Linked DNA regions of Homo sapiens: all the other regions are linked to region 4. Evidence: promoter capture Hi-C in 16 types of primary human blood cells and fetal thymus (Javierre and others, 2016). All regions are on one chromosome and are shown on one strand. Each heading gives the region's core, a stretch centred on a gene start or on the middle of the fragment in contact. The rest is flanking DNA. Distances are from core to core; before and after follow the strand shown. Region 1 overlaps TRIM36 (tripartite motif containing 36). Region 2 overlaps COMMD10 (COMM domain containing 10). Region 3 overlaps TRIM36 (tripartite motif containing 36). Region 4 holds the start of TICAM2 (TIR domain containing adaptor molecule 2). Region 5 has its middle 12 kb from the start of COMMD10. Region 6 overlaps ARL14EPL (ARF like GTPase 14 effector protein like). Region 7 overlaps ARL14EPL (ARF like GTPase 14 effector protein like).

The links. The method cuts DNA at HindIII sites, captures the fragments that hold promoters and counts their contacts. A CHiCAGO score of 5 or more calls a contact.
Region 1: a contact is called between a fragment that was not itself captured here and the fragment with the promoter of TICAM2 in region 4, in 6 of 17 cell types (naive B cells, M2 macrophages, monocytes and 3 more). The highest score is 7.6, in naive B cells.
Region 2: a fragment that was not itself captured here is called in contact with the fragment with the promoter of TICAM2 in region 4 in 14 of 17 cell types (erythroblasts, M0 macrophages, naive CD4 T cells and 11 more); the score reaches 11.9 in erythroblasts.
Region 3: a contact is called between a fragment that was not itself captured here and the fragment with the promoter of TICAM2 in region 4, in 10 of 17 cell types (monocytes, total CD8 T cells, total B cells and 7 more). The highest score is 8.3, in monocytes.
Region 5: a fragment that was not itself captured here is called in contact with the fragment with the promoter of TICAM2 in region 4 in 17 of 17 cell types (monocytes, naive B cells, naive CD8 T cells and 14 more); the score reaches 21.3 in monocytes.
Region 6: a contact is called between a fragment that was not itself captured here and the fragment with the promoter of TICAM2 in region 4, in 8 of 17 cell types (monocytes, naive B cells, total B cells and 5 more). The highest score is 9.4, in monocytes.
Region 7: a fragment that was not itself captured here is called in contact with the fragment with the promoter of TICAM2 in region 4 in 14 of 17 cell types (total CD4 T cells, naive CD8 T cells, M2 macrophages and 11 more); the score reaches 11.5 in total CD4 T cells.

What each region holds. Positions count from the first base shown.
Region 1 is chr5:115,147,309-115,150,209 of GRCh38, reverse strand. TRIM36 (tripartite motif containing 36) reads left to right here. Exons shown (of 10, transcript NM_001300759.2): 3 at 2,816-2,901. Among named protein-coding and RNA genes, the nearest start is that of TRIM36, 21 kb to the left of the region's middle. The HindIII fragment of the contact is 1,512 bases long and covers 692-2,203 here.
Region 2 is chr5:116,098,283-116,100,982 of GRCh38, reverse strand. All of the region lies in intron 4 of COMMD10 (COMM domain containing 10), which reads right to left. Among named protein-coding and RNA genes, the nearest start is that of COMMD10, 15 kb to the right of the region's middle. The HindIII fragment of the contact is 1,467 bases long and covers 702-2,168 here.
Region 3 is chr5:115,164,091-115,166,790 of GRCh38, reverse strand. All of the region lies in intron 1 of TRIM36 (tripartite motif containing 36), which reads left to right. Among named protein-coding and RNA genes, the nearest start is that of TRIM36, 4.5 kb to the left of the region's middle. The HindIII fragment of the contact is 4,022 bases long and covers 1-2,700 here.
Region 4 is chr5:115,601,189-115,603,888 of GRCh38, reverse strand. It overlaps TICAM2 (TIR domain containing adaptor molecule 2), which reads left to right and starts at 1,410. Exons shown (of 2, transcript NM_021649.7): 1 at 1,410-1,792. The region is part of intron 3 of TMED7-TICAM2 (TMED7-TICAM2 readthrough); the gene reads left to right. It overlaps TICAM2-AS1 (TICAM2 antisense RNA 1), which reads right to left and starts at 1,734. Exons shown (of 3, transcript NR_109875.1): 1 at 1,429-1,734; 2 at 733-843. RefSeq lists a silencer at 1,419-1,918 and enhancers at 1,538-2,060, 2,009-2,088. The HindIII fragment of the contact is 4,479 bases long and covers 1-2,581 here.
Region 5 is chr5:116,071,793-116,074,492 of GRCh38, reverse strand. No RefSeq gene overlaps it. Among named protein-coding and RNA genes, the nearest start is that of COMMD10, 12 kb to the left of the region's middle. The HindIII fragment of the contact is 6,657 bases long and covers 1-2,700 here.
Region 6 is chr5:116,035,965-116,038,751 of GRCh38, reverse strand. The region is part of intron 1 of ARL14EPL (ARF like GTPase 14 effector protein like); the gene reads right to left. Among named protein-coding and RNA genes, the nearest start is that of ARL14EPL, 4.9 kb to the right of the region's middle. The HindIII fragment of the contact is 2,012 bases long and covers 433-2,444 here.
Region 7 is chr5:116,054,174-116,056,873 of GRCh38, reverse strand. The region is part of intron 3 of ARL14EPL (ARF like GTPase 14 effector protein like); the gene reads right to left. Among named protein-coding and RNA genes, the nearest start is that of ARL14EPL, 23 kb to the right of the region's middle. The HindIII fragment of the contact is 5,559 bases long and covers 1-2,700 here.

The sequences.
Region 1 (2,901 bases), core at 198-2,697, 450 kb after region 4:
TAAGGATATTACTTCCCAGAATATCCTAAGATTCTCATTTTCTTTATTGCTCTGAACATCTACTGTTTGTTTTTATGAAAACAATGAAAGAAATATAAGACAGATGAAATAAAAGTTCTTTAGCATTTGTAAGAAATATTTAAGCACATTGGGCCAGGCACGGTGGCTGAAGCCTGTAATCCCAGCACTTTGGGAGGCCGAGGCAGGTGGATCACGAGGTCAGGAGATCGAGACCATCCTGGCTAACATGGTGAAACCCCATCTCTACTAAAAAATACAAAAAATTAGCCGGGCGTGGTGGCAGGCACCTGTAGTCCCAGCTACTCGGGAGGCTGAGGCAGGAGAATGGCGTGAACCCGGGAGGCGGAGCTTGCAGTGAGCCGAGATCGCGCCACTGCACTCCAGCCTGGACGACAGAGCGAGACTCCATCTCAAAAAAAAAGAGCTTTCAAGATCTGTTTAGAAAGATAGCCAAGATATCTATTTGGACGAGTTGTGAAAAATTACATGTCTTAATTTAATGTCTGATTTAAGTTTAGTGTTTCACACCTTTTTTTTTTTTTTTTTACACTGTAAAAACACAGTAGCAGAGGTAAACAGAAAAGGGATGAACTTTTTTTTTTTTTTTTTTTTTTTTTTTCAAATTTCTGAGGACCCAATTCTGGGTGTCACCAGCATACATGTTAAAGCTTGATTTTGTTGTCATTATTTACTTTTCATTATCCCGTTACTTTAATTGGTCATAATCTTCATAAAACCAAAAATAACTCATTTTTTTAACACTTTTGAGATTAGTTTTCTATTTATCTAAATTTTCATCACCTATTTCATGTGTGGAAACCTGCGATTATATATGAATTTCTATTTGTTTAAACTTGACCACTGCACCATACCATCTCCAGAATTGTTTGGCTTGTTTTCTTTCCTAAATGAAATTTTCATTGGCATGTGATTTAAAAGTAGCTTTGCTGCTTATTTCATGATATGCCTGCTGTGGTGTGAAAGAGTTTGGATTGTATTGCATGCTTTTAGAATTATTATCTGAATATATTTTAGGATTTTCAAATTTTTATGGGGCAACTTTTTTGTATGCATTAATGTTTAAAAATGTAAACGTTAAAATATCTTTAAATGAAGATATTAAAAATATTCTGCATGTTTGTTGTATAAGTAGATTTTGGGGCCCAATGCCATATAGCATGCTATTAACATCACTTCCAATAAGTATTATTATGGGCTGATTGCTAAATTTTACCTGAACTGATATCATGTCAGACATCTTTTAAGATATTCTTTTGAGTGATGACAGTTATATGCAAAGGGTATATTGATGTAGCTGTTTAAAGACCTTTTGTAATGTGGTATACCAAATTCAGCCATTCATTTTTGGTATTGGATACATGATAGTATGAAAGAAGGTGTAGGTTAAGAAGTTTGTGTTTAAGTTAAGGGAGTTATTTTTGGGGCAACTAAGACTGCATACTCTTAAGAACAGATTTACGGCCGGGCGCGGTGGCTCACGCCTGTAATCCCAGCACTTTGGGAAGCCAAGACAGGTGGATCACGAGGTCAGGAGTTCAAGACCAGCCTGGCCAAGATGGTGAAACCCCATCTCTACTAAAAATATAAAAATTAGCTAGGTGTGGTGGTGGGCGCCTGTAATCCCAGCTACTTGGCAGGCTGAAGCAGAGAATTGCTTGAACCTGGGAGGCAGAGGTTGCAGTGAGCCGAGATCACACTCCAGCCTAGGTGACAGAGTGAGACTCCATCTAAAAAAAAAAAAAAAAAAAAAAAGAACAGATTTACAAATGAGGGAATGTGATATGCATGCACCTGTCGTAAATGGACAACCCTGGATTCCTGTGAACCAATGGGTAAGGACTGTCATGCATTGGTTTCTTGATTTATTAAAATTGGGATAATACTGAACAAAAATGTGATGTTTAAGGTCATTCATTGTTTTATATATGTTGTAAAATTATTTGTAGTGTTTTTGGGGTAACTTTTGGCTTACTGAGTTAAGTAATCTTAATGATTCTTTGTTTCAGGTCATAAGAAGTTATTAAATGGTTGGTCCCTCTTAAAAATCACTAAATTATAGGTCTATGAATGAATTTTTCACTCTTCTATAGATTGCACTCAATTAACTAATGATCTTCCCTACTGAATTTTTCCAGATAAAACAATACTACGTGGGAAAGCTTCTATTGTAGTGTTGTTAAAAATTTTGTGGTCACATCACATATTCTTTTGAAAATCTGATAAAAGCTGTGGGTTTTTACCAGTAAATATGTATATGTATATAGGTGGAATATTTTGTGCACAATTTCAAATAGTTCATGGATCTGCCTGGGCCTCTTCATGGGCTTTGTGCTAGGGACCCCTGCTCTTTTATGTATCGATTCATTTCCTGTCAGTCAGCAAAGACTGTTCTTTTAAATGTCTTTGGATATGGTGTATAAAAGTAACTATAAATGCTAATTATATAATTTTAAAAGATCTTAACGCCATGTAGTATTGTATTACGTGTTTTATCTTTATATCTATGTTTGATTTAATATGGATTCTATGTGGGTTTACTGTAGAATATTTTCCTTTTTGATTTGCTGTTTGATTTGATAACTTGGGCTTGTCTTTTGTATACTAAGGAAAAATTTTTAAAAACATTTTCACAATACAAATTTCACGTGGAGCCACTTCGGATACTGTTTTTGTGATACATTTGTAGATATGTCTCTAAGACATGACTCCTCTTTTCTTCATTCTAATCATTTTCCTACTGCTATAACTAAACAAAGACTTACTAATTACACAGGCTGGAAGCGCAATTCATTGACCCCGAGGACAACTGTTTTCCCTTGCCCTGGCTGTGAGCATGATGTGGATCTTGGAGAACGAGGA
Region 2 (2,700 bases), core at 186-2,685, 500 kb before region 4:
CTTACTCATAAGTGGGAGCTAAATAATGTGTACACATGGATGTAAAAAGTGGAATGACAGACAATGGAGACTCAGAAGGGAGAGGAGGTGCTGCGAGGGTGGATAATGAGAAATTACCTAAAAGTCCTGAATTCACCATTATGAAATCTATGCATGTAACAAAATTTCAGTTGTACACCATGAATTTATACAAAGAAAAATAAATAAATGGCAAAAAACAGACGTATTAAAGTGAGATGAGATGAAATTTTAAAATCCCTTCAATCATATTCTGCAAAAAGCTATTAATGTCAAGTTTTTTTTTCAATTGGCCCTCTCATTTATTAAATCTAAACAATAAGAGATAAAAAGAAGTGTCTTTCAACCAGTCTTTGACAAGGGCACCAAGGATACACCATGGGAAAAAGCCTTTTCAACTAATGGTACTGAGAAAACTGAAAATCTACATGCAAAAAAAAAAAAAAGGAACTGGACCTTTATCTTATACCATGCACAAAAATTAACTAAAAATGAATTAAAGACTTAAATGAAAGATCTGAGACTATAAAATTTCTAGAAAAAAATACAGGAAAAATAGCTCCTTAGCACTGGCCTTTGCAATGATTTTTTGGATAGGACACCAAAAGCGTATCACTTTTTGGATATGAAATACATAACAAAAGCAAAAACAAACAAGTGTGATTATATCAAACTAAAAAGCTTCTACACAACAAAGGAAACTTAACAAAATGAAAAGGCAACCTATAGAATGTGAGAAAACAGAGGTTCGGCATCCCTAATCCAAAAATCCAAAATCTAAAATACTCCAAAATCTGAAACTCTTTGAACTCCAACATGATACCATAAACAGAAAATTTCCCACCTGATCTCATATGACAGGTCACAGTCAAAACTTTGTTTCATACACAAAATTATTTAAAATATTGTGTAAGATTACCTTCAGGCTATGTATATAAGGTGTATTTGAAACATAAATGAATTCAGTGTTTAGACTTGCTTACCATCCCCAAGACATCTCATTATGTATATGCAAATATTCCAAAATTCAAAAAATCCAAAATCCAAAACACTTCTGGTCCCAAGCATTTCAGATACGTGATACCCAACCTGTATTTGTAAACCATGTATAAGAGGTTAACATACAAAATACATAAGGAACTCACAAACTCAATAGCAGGAAAACTAATAACCCATTTAAAAACTGGACAAAGGAACTGAACAGACATTCTCCCCACCAAAAAAAGGCATAAAAATGATCAACAGGTATATAAAAGAGTGGTCAATATCATTAATCATCAAAGAAATGCAAATCAAAAGCATAATACAACATGACGTTACATCGTTAAAATACCTATTATCAAAAAGACAAGAGACAGCAAGTGTTAGGAAGACAGCAGAGAAAAAGAAACCATTGTACAGTGTTGGTGGGAATGTAAATTGGTACAGCCTTTATGAAAAACAGTATGGAGGTTCCTTAAAACATTAAAAATAAAACTATCATACAATCCAACAATCCCACTCCTGGTTTATACGCAAAGGAAATGAAATCAGTTGAAGAGATATCTGCACCCTCATGTTCACTGCAGTATTATTCACAATGGCCAAGATAAGGAAACAACCTAAGTGTCTGTCAACAAATGAACAGATAATGAATGGAATATTATTCAACCTTTAAAAAGAAAACACTGCCATTTGTGACAAAATGGATGAACCTGGAGGGTGTTATGCTAAGTGAAATAAGCCAGGCACAGAAAGACAAAACACTGTATGAGCTAATTTATACGCATACTCTAAAAGTTTAACTCACTGAAGCAGAGAGTAGAATGGTAGTTGCCTGGGGATGGGGTATGAGGGAAATGAGGAGATGCTGGTCAGAGGGTACAACTTTTAGCTATAAAACAAATTAAGTTCTGGGAATCTAATGTATGGCATGGTGACTATAGTTAATAATACCACGTTGTTTACTTTAAGTTTTCAAAGACAGTAGATCTTAAATGTCCTCACGCACACACTCACCCACACATAAAAGGTGGTAACTGTGTGGTGACAGATATGTTGATTAATTTGATTATGGTAATCATTACACAATGTATACAGCTATCAAATCATCACATTGCACACCCTGAATACGCATAATTTTTGTTTATCAATTATACCTCGATAAAGCTTAAAAAAGAAGTTTTTAAAATGGAATAAAAATAAACACCTTTTGATTTTTTAACATTATTTCATTGATCTTACCCTCTTTGAATTCAGAATCACAGTCTTTCCTCAGTATCTAGCGAGGGCTGGTTCCAGGACCCCCTACAGACACCCAAAACTGCAGATACTCAAGTCCCTCATATAAAATGACACAGTATTTAAATATAATCTACACATATCCTCCTTTATACTTTAAATCATCTCTAGATTATTTATAATAACTAATACAATGACAACACATCATTTCTGTGGATTTAACATAGTACTCAGCACATGGCAAATTCAAGTTTCACTTTTTGGAATTTTTTGTTTCCCAAATATTCTTGATCTGCTGCGAGTTTAATCCATGAATACGAAATCCAGGGATACAGAGGGCTGACTGTACTACCAACATGTGTTCTGCTGCAAGCACCCCACAGTTTATGTGGGTAGGACCCTAAGTTACCATAAAACAGTTAAAGTCATTGCATGTACACCTTTTTTCATCATATAAGTCAG
Region 3 (2,700 bases), core at 57-2,556, 440 kb after region 4:
CTGCAGAGCCACAAAGAGGATGTCACAGCCCTGGCTTGGGGAGCTCCTAAGTCCAGGCTCCCTGAAGGGCTGCAGCTCTTCTCTCCTCTCTTGTCTCCTCATCGTCACCCACAACATGGCGAGCAGCAGGGTGTATTTGACACAGTTTGTGTTACAGCTTGTTTGGTCCTGCCATTTGGCAGGTCCAGAGTTCCTGTACTGTGTCCAGGAAGAATGAGCTACATGGACAACTGGAGGGTGAACAAGGTGCTTTATTGAGCAAAAGAGTAGCTCTCAGGAGACCTGTCATGGGTAGCTGCTTTCTGCAGGCAGTTCCTCCCGACAACTGCAGCTCTCAGCAGAGAAGAGACCCGGAGTGGGTACCTCCTCTCTGCAGGCAGGTCATTTTGTCGAGTGTGCAGTCCTCAGTGGAGAGGAGACCCAAGTGGGTAGCTCTTACCTGCAGGCAGGTCGTCCTATCATCTGCCAGAGTCTGGCTGAGTTTGCGGTTTTTATGGGCTTCAGAGGGGAGGAAGTGTGTGCTGATTGGCCCATGGGTGGCCATGGGTGGGCCTGGAAAATTCACTGTAAGTTTTCACTCCAGTCAGTGGAACTGGCAGCCTGGACCCTAGGCTTCAGGCTATCCCTGGCTTGAAGGTGGGGTTTCAGCAGGGACCTGTCCCTTTCCTCCCAGGAGCCTGTCTCCCTCCCACTGCTGTTCATGGTGCCCAGACTGTTTTAGCTGAGGGACGCCTGCAGTACCACGTTGAGTCACCCTCAGCCCTGCCCTTGGCCTCCCTCCCACGTTCATCAGCGCCCAAAGTCCAGAGGGAGCTGAGGTGGCAGGGGGCTGGTGTGTCAGCATCTCCTCAAGCACACACACACCTGGCCAGGTCATGTCAGTGCCCGGGCTTGGCCACAGCTTTTCTCCAAAGTCAGAGTGGGCACTGGGAATGGGGAGAGGCCAAGCAGTAGGAGCAGGCACTTCTGAGCATGTGGGGGAAGAGAGGCATCCTGGGCCCCCGAGAGCATAGGAATGCCCTAGTCCACAGCTGGGTGGCTGCAATTGCACCCAGGAGCATGGGGCTCCCTCCGCACCAACTCGGAAGGGAGAAGGGCTCCTGCCTGTTCCTGGGTCCCGCTGGCTCTGCAGAGCAAGCAGGTCCGGCTGTGCCTTCCCAACTGCAGCCAGCATCTTTGCAGCAGCTGCTCCAGATGGGCTGCAGCTGCCATCACTGGGACTTGGTGCCCTGTGTCCCAGCTGTTCCAGTACCAGTTGTGGCTAAAAGGGGCCAAGGTACAGTTCAGACCATTGCCTCAGAGGGTGCAAGCCTTGGTGGCTTACACATGGTGTTGGGCCTACCAGTGCACAAAAGTCAAGAGTTGAGGTTTGGAAACCTCTGCCTAGATTTCAGAGGATGTACAGAAACACCTGGATATCCAGGCAGAAGTCTGCTGCAGGGGCGAAGCTCTCATGGAGAACCTCTGCTAGGGCAGTGCAAAGGGGAAATGTGAGATATAAGCCGCCACACAGAGTCCCCACTGGGGCACTCCCTAGGGGAGCTCTGAGAAGAGGACCATGGTCCTCCAGACCCCAGAATGGTAGATCCACCAACAGCTTTCATCATGCGCCTGGGAAACCTGCAGATACTCAATGCCAGCCATGAAAGCAGGTGGTGTGTGGGCTGTACCCTGCAAAGCCACAGGGGTGGAACTGCCCAAGGCCATGGCAGTCCACCCTTTGGATCAGCGTACCCTGAATGAGAGACATTGAGTCAAAGGAGATCTCACTTGTGAGCTTTATGACTTAATAACTGTCCTTTTGGGTTTCAGACTTTCATGGGACCTGTAGCCCCTTTGTTTTGGCCAATTTTTCCCATTTGGAATGGGAGCATTTGTCCAATGCCTGTACACCCATTGTATCCTGGAAGTAACTAACTTGCTTTTGATTCTCCAGGCCCCTAGGCAGAAGGGACTTGCTTTGTCTCAGATGAGACTTTGGACTTGGACTTTTGAGCTAATGCTGAAATGAGTTAAGACTTTGGGGGACTGTTTGGAAGCATGATTGGTTTTGAAATGTGAGGACATGAGATTTGGGAGGGGCCAGGGCCACAATGATATGGTTAGGTTCAAATCTTATCTTGAATTGTAATCCCAAGGTGTTGAGGGAGAGACCTGGTGGGAGGCCATTGAATCACAGGGGTAGATTTTCCCCATGCTGTTCTTGTGATAGCGAATTCTCATAAGATCTGATGGTTTTGTAAGGCAGTATCCCTGCTCTTGCTCTCTCTCACCTGCCACCACGTAACACAGATCTGCTTCCCCTTCTGCCATGATTGTAAGTTTCTTGAGGACTCCCTAGCCATGTGGAACTGTGAGTCACTTAAATCTCTTTTCTTTATAAATTACCCAGCCTCAGGTAATTTTCTTTATAGCAGTGTGAAAATGGACTAATACATACTCATAAAGTGCTTTTAAGATAATTGCTTTGATATACAGCATGAGAACCTCAGGCATTAATGAAGAATGGTCGCATTTAATGTAGAAAATTGCTGATAATTCAGCTTGTAAATAGATACCAACTAGGTTTCCATGAACATACTGACTCAGCTAGTGTTTAATAGCTCCTGTTATTTGTCAGTCACAGTGTTAATTCACTAAATAAGAATATAGTCTTACTCTTAGTGCTGTATTCAAAATTTTTATTGACATGATCTACTT
Region 4 (2,700 bases), core at 161-2,660:
CAGTGGGAAAATGTGAAAAGCTCTGATTTTGAAGGGTTGCCAGAGAAAGAGGAACAGGCAGAGGAAACTGAAAGAAGAATTTTTTTTTTTTTTTTTTTTTTTTGAGACGGAGTCTCACTCTGTGGCCCAGGCTGGAGTGCAGTGGCGCGATCTCGGCTCACTGCAAGCTCCGCCTCCCGGGTTCAAGCCATTCTCCTGCCTCACCCTCCCAAGTAGCTGGGACTACAGGCAGCTGCCACCACTCCCGGCTAATTTTTTGTATTTTTTAGTAGAGACGGGGTTTCACCGTGTTAGCCAGGATGGTCTCGATCTCCTGACCTCGTGATTCACCCGCCTCGGCCTCCCAACAGGCCTGAAAGAATTTTAACAAGCAGGATGAGCATAAAGGCAAAGTGGGGTTGTCAACATCAAGGAAACAGAGTGTTGGGAAACAATGGTCGACTTTGTCAATCGCCAAAGAGACTCCCAGGAAAAATGAGGGCAACAAAAGTATCAGTTGGATTTAGGAGGCCACTGCTTACCCAAAGAGTTCAGGTAGAATTGTTGGGAGGTGCAGTGGTTGGAGAATCAACTCCGTGAATAATGAATTGTGTTGACACGGTACATAATACGGTATTTCTGACTACATTGGCGGCATTTCACTAAGTAATTACTACCTGAAGTGCCTACCTTCAGTAAGGCATCCTGTTGTTGGATGGGGAAAGAGAAGGAGGAAATAACTCTTAGCTTTACCTGTACTGTGCTTCTGAGACCCAGGTATGGACCTTCACTCCCAATTTACTATCCATGGTCTCATCCGATGTTCAGTAACTGGGTTCTCCTTTGGCAGGGAGTAGGGATTGCCTGAGAATTAAAAGGGGAGGGGAGATTTCTGAACTGGACCTCTTAGGTTATGACTAGATTGGGTGCCTGAGGCAGCAATGGGGCTTTATAAGGCTTCTTTACGCTTCATTTAACTAATTGCTTTTTTGTTCTCTCTTATTCAGTGGAGTTCCAATCTGTTCGGTTGTGGAGAACGAACCTGAGAAAAAGGATCTTTCGCAGGGTAGTTTTTGGGGGCAGAGGCTGATGTGCTGCACCCCCTAATCAGGGGTATGGTTGGCTGCAGTAGTCAAGTGAGAGGGCCGCAAAGGGAAAGGAAAAGTCGAGACTATCTTAGGGAACCAGGAGAGTCGCTGTACCTCTGAAAGATCTACGGTTTGTCTGGTCTGTAAGGAGCAAACACGGTGGAATTCCTTTCCAGATTTTTCTGGGCCTCGACCTCTGGCTTTTGGGGTACATGCCAAAAAAAAAAAAAAAAAAAAAAGCGCAGGGAGAGTCCACTAGCCTCGGTGACAGTTCCCCATTGCGGTTTCCCCTCCTCCACCCTTCTTTGCGAGCTCCTTCCCTCTGCAGAGAGTTATCCCGCCACATTAACCCCTGACTCACAGCTGGACCGCCCCGGCCCGCAGCGCCACGTCCCGGGTGGGGCCTGCCACGGCAAAGCAGCAGTCCGGCCTCGAGCGGCCCCTCGGGGGCGGCGGGGTGGGCGCCAACAGCAGTCAGGCCTGACAAGCGGCGACCTCCAAGGGTGAGGCCTCTGCGGGCCCCCGACTCACGCGCGTCCGGGCTCTGCAAGCGCGGTGGGGAGCAGGCTGCTGTGGTCGCGGGGACTGGGTTGCGGCGCGCCGCGTACGGGACGGCCCCAAACTCTCGACGCCCGGGGCAAGACGCCCACCCCCTGGGCGCTCTCGCTGGGCCAGAAAGGAAGACAGAAAAGCCGCGGGCTGACTGTGGTGGCGCTCGCCTGCAGGCAAGTACCGGGCGCTAGGGCGGGGGCCGCCGCCGGGGGCGCGGGGTGGGCTGGGGCCAGGCCGCCAGGGGCGCGGGGTGGTCTGGGGGCCAGGCCGCCTGCGCTACCTCCCCAGCCTACCCGACCCGACGGCGCGGGTGCTGGCGCTGTTGTCCCCAGCGGGGCGGGCAGGCCTTTCCGTCACTTGGCTTACTCTGAAGGGAAAATCCACACAGCTGTCTGCCTTTTTGTTTCATTTTGACTAGAAAACCCATTTTCGAAAAGACACCTCAGAACCATAAGCAAATAGCCCAGAGTCTTAAATGCTCTAAAGGCTCTGCATGAGCCCCTGCCAGGCACACAGAGCCAGTGCTGGAGGTTTTGGCATGGGTTTTCCTACTTGGCTTTTTGTGCAAAGCTAATTTGGATAAAAATAATTTGACTGGCAGCTGTGAGCTAGTTTTCAGTGTATTAGGACCTCTCCAGCTTTCCACGGTAGTAAACTTCTTAAAGAAAGTATTTTAAAATATTCTCATATTTATTATTATTTTTTAATTTATCCTTTTAATTTTGAAAAGCAAGGGTGGGAAAGGCTATATGATCTGGAGGTAAAAATACACCATTATATAGAGTTGAAGTGTCATCCCCTGAACCCACATTGCACGTCTACACAGGAGAAGAACTTGTCCTTCTCCAAGTGTTTAGTATTCCTTAGATTAGTGTTTTTCAAACAAGCCTGATGGTAAGACGCATTTGGGACTTTTGTTTAAAATGCATCCCCCCACCTCTGAAGGTTTAATTTGGTAAGCTTGATTTCCAGAATCTGTATTTCTATTTTTTTATTGTTTAATTTAATTTTATGTTCTGGGATACATGTGCAGGACTTGCAGGTTTGTTACATAGATAAACGTGTGCCATGGTGGTTTGCT
Region 5 (2,700 bases), core at 106-2,605, 470 kb before region 4:
ATATCTATACCTACTATGTCCCAACAAAATTTAAAAAATTAAAATGAAATACATTATTTAAAAAATAAATTGATTATAACATCTTAAAATGTTTCCATAATCTTTTTTTTTTTTTTTGAGTTGGAGTCTCACTCTGTCACCCACTGCAAGCTCCGCCTCCTGGGTTCATGCCATTCTCCTGCCTCAGCCTCCTGAGTAGCTGGGACTACAGGTGCCTGCCACCACGCCTGGCTAATTTTTTGTATTTTTAGTAGAGATGTGGTTTCACTATGTTATCCAGGATGGTCTCAATCTCCTGACCTCTTGATCTGCCCGCCTCAGCCTCCCAAAGTGCTGGGATTACAGGCATGAGCCACCATGCCAGGCCCCAAATGTTTCCATAATCTCTTTAAAACTTTGCAGAGGTGGCACTCTAGAGAACTCTAGTCTGAATATGGCTCATGGGCTATAGAAATACTGTGCTTGCTTATTTTGTTTAACCTACTCAGTGATGACATAGACAATGTAACCAGAGAGATTCTTATTTTGAAAACAATAGAAGCAACTTAATTTTTATAGTTTGCTGCATGAGTCATAAAGTCCCTATGCCTAAAGGCATTTAAGTTTGTGACCCCCATCTTAGAGGAATATTTTAGGGACAAACATCTCTTTGTTAAGGAAACAACTCTTTAATATACAGCAATTTCTATAGTTTTTTTTCTTCTCTTTTCCACTTTAATAAAATCATTTCTATATATCTGTATCACATATATTAGATATATAGCATATAGATTGAGATCTAGATATAAATATGCATACAGTGATTACTAAAATTAGGTTTGGTTAATGTCCACAATTATTTCAGGCTGGTGAGATTTTCTGTAAGTTTTTACCTTCTCTGTATTACTTGAACTTCCAATGATGAGAATTAATTATTTTTACCATCAGTTACTATTCAAAAGATCATGAAGACCAAGATAATTAGTTATGTGCCCAGGATATTTTATATTAGGTACTAACATATTTTACATGCCAAGAAAAATTCTTTGTGGGACCTAACATTAACATCATTCTTATGGTAATTTGTAAATAATATTAATTTATTATTATCAAAATATACTTAAGATTTTTGTGTGTTAAATGAAAGGTCTAAAGTAAATTATTAATATTATTGCATTTGGGAAAAAGGCAAATATATCTCTTCAGAGTAACTGCCTATTTTTTATTTACACAAGATTTTAAAAAGTTTTTTCTTTACAGTTTGCTTAGATTAGTAAATTAACAAGATGGGTACAGTTACTTTCCTTCAGGATCAGAGTCGGCGTGGCATTGCTAAAGACAAAGTGGTGCTTCTAACAAGCCAAAGAGCTCGAGAGGTTCCAATCTGCCCCTTAGAGCCATAGGTAAATACAGATTATTTGAATGACTCTACCCAGTCTCCTCATTGTTCCAGCATGCCATGCCCATTCTCAGTTGTGTCTAGTTTTGTAGTCTCTTCTTTGTAATATACTCTCCCCACAGTTCCTACATCTCCAGAAGGGAATATGTAGAGGTATTTGAGTTGTTCCAATGCCTTACAAATGTTACTGATACATAGCAGGAATCACAGTCTCACACAATGATGAATTATCCACCCAAGGTGCCAATAGCATCTGTGTGGAGAAACCAAACCTTCAAGACTTCAAGATCCAACTCAGTTCACACTTTCTAAAATGTACACCACCTACTCACCTTCTTCTCTGGACTTTGAGAGGGTTTCTTATATGAAGCAAACATTTTAGCAAGGAATTCTATATGATTGCCTTTCTTCATTAGCCAACTGTTGTAAAGGCATAGATCCATCCTTAGACTTCTTTAGAGACCTCATCATACCCAGTATCATATGGGTGCCTGGGATAGATAAAATAAAACTATTTCAAACCCTTTTACAGTGAAGATTTAAGCTCTTGGTTGGACAGCCAATTTAGTTAAATGGTATGTCTAAGGATGCAGAAATCTGTGAACACTACATTCAAAGAGAAATAGTGTTTCCCTAAACACATAACTTTATTTGATTCCTTGATTTATTCTACTTTGAAGTTAGTAAGTTTTATTGAGATCTTGAAAAATGAGTTGAAATACTGTATTTTCATAGCTGTCTTTCCAGAATTCAAGACGCTTCACAATACTTTCATGTTTCGACAAACTAATGGTAAAATACTGTGTTTCAAATGTGTGTATAAAATTTTTTTTGATTCCTTCATGACTTTTCCTTATTTTTGTATGGCAGAATTTGTTCATCAAGGTCAACTTGGTAAATATATAATTGTGGAACATTTGATTTGAGGTTTAACTTTAGTGTGAAAGCCTATTAACTCAATCACACCTAGTGCCCTAATCTTGGTTTCTAATATTCTCCAATAAAAAGAACCTGGACTTGTTGGAGAAATGGCTGATTCTAGGACTGGGGCAGTAAGTACAAAATGAGCCTGGGACACCTTGTAGTGCAGGGAGTAAGGAAGTGCTAAAAATTTAAAATAAAATTTTAAAACTCACAATGATTCAGATATGTTAAAGGACCATAGAACGCAACTGAAAAAAACTCCTAATAGCTTAAAACCAAATGATAAAATGAATATCCACAAGTCCATACTGATCTAAACAAATAATTTAATAAATTATTCCATTATTTAAATAATTGAATAATTATTGAGTAAATAGAAGGGAGAGAAGACAAAATTT
Region 6 (2,787 bases), core at 189-2,688, 430 kb before region 4:
TTCCTCAGTGCATTGAATTTTCATCTTTTTCACACCCGCCCTCCCCACCCCATGTTTCCCAGGCCAACTTCTAACCTAACCTGGTTTCCCTGCCTTGAGTCTTTTTAATCTCCACACTTCGCTACTGAAGTTATTCTCCTTAAAATTCTTGTCTGCATTGTGTCACTTTCCTCCTCCAAAACCTTTGTGGTCCTTTGTGGTCCTCAGCATGATATTTTAGGCCTTGCATGACATGACCTAATTCTACCTTCCCAGCCTCGTTGTCACCGCATCCTTCCATTAGCCTGACACTAAATTCTAGCTAGAGTGCAAGAATGTTCCCACTTCCAGGACCCACTTACGCTTTCCCCAGTGTATGTCTAAAATCACCATTGTGTAATCATCCCCATTGCCCAGTTAGAATAAGCACCTCTGTTTCTATGTTTGCAAGCTTGTTCATAGTTATTTACACACTTGTCTCCCGTATCAGCCCTCTCCCACTTCAAGGCAGGATCTATATGACTCTTCATTTCTATGGCATCATCTGCCACAGCAACTAGGACATTGGTACTCATGCATACCCACTAATAGAAAGGATCAATGGCACATTTTTCACTGTGAATAGTAACTTAGTGATCTGTTTCCCAGGAGTCTGAGCAATATAAGGCACTTTTTTTTTCAGGTTCTAACCCACTCCGCCATCCCTACCTCTCCTCCTACCTTGCCCTGTTAAATTGGAGCATAATATTCCTGCTGTGCATGATAGGCAATGCAAACCTTAAGGTTCACAAACACAGCAGTGACTGAGAGCATTTTCTCTCCATGAACCTTACATTTGCAATGCATCCCCTCTTCCTGCTATTGTATAACCTACATCAATGCAGTGTTTATCTCAAATTGGTGTTAAAATAAAAACCACCAACTAAAACCAAACAAAGTACATTCTTGTGTGCAGGTAAGAAAACAGTTAGATAGTAATCATAGGTATCTCTGGATTTTTTATACTTTATCATTTCCTATATTTACCCATTTCCTGTAATAAGCATGTATTTCACAATTTTTAAAGTTATTAATATTTTAAAAATACTTCTAAGAATAATGTAGAACTCTCTTGTATGTGTGAAATAACTATGTCCAGCAGATGGCACAAAACCCCTAATCCAGAATTAAAACAGTTAAAAACAAACAAACAAACAAAAAAACTCTTGTTACTTGAAGAATGCCATGTGAAGGGCATGTATCTTAGTGACCAGGAATGAGCCAAAATGGACACTGCTTCCAGAATCTTCGTCTCCACTAGGTATGATTTGTTTATCTCTGTTATAGTCAAAGGTGAGTCATTTCAGAGGTAAGGAAGGGGCCTCTGTGATATGCAGGATGTGTGGGACCTGCAGAGGCTTCAGGGCAAGATGGACTATGCAGAACATTCTCGAAAAGTGGACAAGCTGTGTGTCAATGCGGTGTCACATCTGGAGAGGGCTTTGGAGACCATATAGTCCATGTGTTTCAAACATTGTTATTACCATTTTTTTCTAAATAAACTTCAATGTATGAAACCAAAAAAGTGAATCTCTCCTATTTAAAGCAGGGGATGGGATGGGAGGCAAGAGCCATGCTGGGCCTTCTCTTTGTCCCAGAGTAGCTCCACCCCTTGTACCTGACATAGTCAAGAACTGGCTATACTTAATCAACAATTATGGAAACCATAAAATACTTCCAAGAGGTCCCTAGAGAAAACCCCTAATGCAGTGGTTTCATTTTACTGCTGAGAAAAGGGCTGCTCAGAGGAGGAGAGTTGCAAATTAAAAATGGAAAAACATATAAAAAGCAAAAAAAAAAATCTTTAATTGCCTTTAAAGGAAAACATCAAAAAGAATATTCAAAATGCATCAATAAATTTAGTACTGATGTTTTCACAAATTTGACATCTGAAACTGGAATTTATGATATATTAAATTTCTGGTATTTTAAACATTGGATTCACTTAAATCTGTTTTATAGTTACAATGGTTTATGGAAACTACAGGAAACAGCATTTCAGCTAATGTGAGGTTTCAGGAGACATGTAAGCATATTTCTAGGTTATATTTTTGCAAATGAAGTTTATTTATATCAATAAAATATCCTTAGGTTGTAATTCCTGCACATTCTATAATTTTTCAATGCAAGTAGAAACCCAAACAGTGACTTGACCGCATGAAGCTAGTCATTTTAGAGCTTCTATAAGCCCCTAAAAACATGTCTAAATAATGTTTGCAAAGTAGATGCAACAATCTATTTAAATGCATTTACCTAAAGTTTCTTGTCAGAACGAGTCCAAATTTAACTATTCTTATAATTATCTTGGAAATTTTCCTTGTTTGGACATCCATTTCTATACGAAGCACTGCCTGTTATTTCCAGGAGCTTCCCACTTGACACTGTATTATTTCTGGTCTACGGAAGATGTATGTGTTTTAGAAGCTTTCAGAGAGGCTTCTCAGAGTGTAATGGTATCTTAACCATGTCCTAAATTAATAAATAAAAGGAAAACCCAAAGGTGAATGGGGTTTAGCAGTAGAGAGCATGGGTCTCAAATTCTAGCTTCTGCTTCTGCTAGCACCTTAAGCCCCTATTTCCCCACGTGTTGAGGTTAGAACAATTATACTGACCTGAGTTGGTGAGTAAGCCATTGTCTCTCAATTCCAAAACCACCTTTTAATGCTCTGCTTTGTGATGTTAGGACTCGGACTATGTAAACCACATTTTGGCTTTGCCAGCTCTGCCAACAGGGGTGTTGAGGGACGTGGAAGGTTGGAAGAGAAAGAA
Region 7 (2,700 bases), core at 22-2,521, 450 kb before region 4:
GGCTAGCCATATGTAGAAAGCTGAAATTGGATCCCTTCCTTACACCTTATACAAAAATTAATTCAAGATGGATTAAAGACTTAAATGTTAGACCTAAAACCATAAAAACCCTAGAAGAAAACCTAGGCAATACCATTCAGGATATAGGCATGGGCAAGAACTTCATGTCTAAAACATCAAAAGCAATGGCAACAAAAGACAAAATTGACAAATGGGATCTAATTAAACTAAAGAGCTTCTGCACAGCAAAAGAAACTACCATCAGAGTGAACAGGCAACCTACAGAATGGGAGAAAATTTTTGCAATCTACTCATCTGACAAAGGGCTAATATCCAGAATCTACAAAGAACACAAACAAATTTACAAGAAAAAAACAAACAACCCCATCAACAAGTGGGCGAAGGATATGAAGAGACACTTCTCAAAAGAAGACATTGATGCAGCCAATAGACACATGAAAAATGCTCATTATCACTGGCCATCAGAGAAATGCAAATCAAAACCACAATGAGATACCATCTCACACCAGTTAGAATGACGATCATTAAAAAGTCAGGAAACAACAGGTGCTGGAGAGGATGTGGAGAAACAGGAACACTTTTACACTGTTGGTGGGACAGTAAACTACTTCAACCCTTGTGGAAGTCAGTGTGGCGATTCCTCAGGGATCTAGAACTAGAAATACCATTTGACCCAGCCATCCCATTACTGCATATATACCCAAAGGACTATAAATCATGCTGCTATAAAGACACATGCACATGTATGTTTATTGCGGCACTACTCACAATAGCAAAGACTTGGAACCAACCGAAATGTCCAACAATGATAGACTGGATTAAGACAATGTGGCACATATACACCATGGAATACTATGCAACCATAAAAAAGGATGAGTTCATGTCCTTTGTAGGGACATGGATGAAGTTGGAAACTATCATTCTTAGCAAACTATCGCAAGGACTAAAAACCAAACACCGCATGTTCTCACTCACAGATGAGAATTGAACAATGAGAACACTTGGACAGAGGAAGGGGAACATCACACACTGGGGCCTGTTGTGGGGTTGGGGGAGTGGGGAGGGATAGCATTAGGAGACATACCTAATGTAAATGAGGAGTTAATGGGTGCAGTACACCAACATGGCACATGTATACATGTGTAACAAACCTGCACATTGTGCACATGTACCCTAGAACTTAAAGTATAATAAAAAAAATTATATATATATATGTATATATATAAAGTCACTTCCTTGTTTTGGTCTTAGTTATGACACATATGTAGGTATCCCTAAACATATTGTGATTTTCCTTTTGTAATTTGCTTTGTTAGTCTGATCATGAGTTGAGATTCTTCCATGATGGTACATGTAGCTGTTCAAATATTTTCACTTCTATATGTATTCCACTGTATAAATATACCACAAGTTATTTATCTTTTCCATTGTTGATGGACATTTGGATTATTAACAGTTTATTTTCTTTGCTATTTCAGTGATGCCATGAAACTTCTTAAACATATCTCCCTATACATGTATTAGACTTTTTCCAAGATATTAATTTATACTCAGGAGTGAAGATGTTAGGTCATAAGGCACATAGGTAACACTGAGCTGTTTTTAAATAGTGGTTGTACCTTTTTACACTTAATTCATATCTCATAGCTTCATCAGCTTTGATGTCAACAGACTAAATTCTGACTCCCTGGGGAGTATGGCACTTCTATGTATGTGCTGATCAGGTTCGGTATCCTGAATGTTTATTTGTTGTTTCCTCTATGAAATGTCTGTTTATCATTTTATTAATTTGTCTATTAGGATATTTACACTTTTCTTATTGACTTGTAAGATTCTTCATATATTTTGGATACTGATTTTTTATGTTATTAATAACTTCTCCTACTTTATGGTGTGTCTTTCACTGTTTTTATGGAGTTTTTAATGGGCATATTAATTTTAATGTAGTTAAATTTATCATTTTCCTTTATAGTTTTCTTAGTTTATTATTTTTTATTTTATTTATTTATTTATTTATTTTTTGAGATGGAGTCTTGCTCTGTCATCCAGGCTGGAGTGCAGTGGCATGGTTTCGGCTCACTGCAACCTCCGCCTCCTGGGTTCAAGCGATTCACCTGCCTCAGCCTCCCAAGTAGCTGGGACTACAGGCGCGTGCCACCACGCCCAGCTAATTTTTTGTATTTTTAGTAGAGACGGGGTTTCACCGTGTTAGCCAGGATGGTCTAGATCTCCTGACCTAGTGATCCACCCACTTTGGCCTCCCAAAGTGTTGGAATTACAGGTGTGAGCCACCGTGCCCAGCCAGTTTACTTAGTTTATACTTACGATGCACTAACAATCATTGTACTTGATGATAGTCCTGTGCCCATTTAATATCCTGAGTTCATTCCCATGGTTATATTATTTATCCTTCTAATGATACATTTTTGTTACTTTTAAATCATCTTTCCTACTAAAGCCATTACTCTATTACACGGCTATTGAAGCCTTTTTAAAAAATCGATTCCTAATTCGGGATTATAGTCTATTTTTCTGTTTCTTAAGGTTGCTAACGTCCAGACACATGGGTACTATTATATTTCAGAGGAGATATTTTTAAATAATAAATAATAAAAAGAGGGAATCTTTCATTGCTTTGTCAAGGAGAATTCATGCATTTCATAATCCCACAGATCAAAT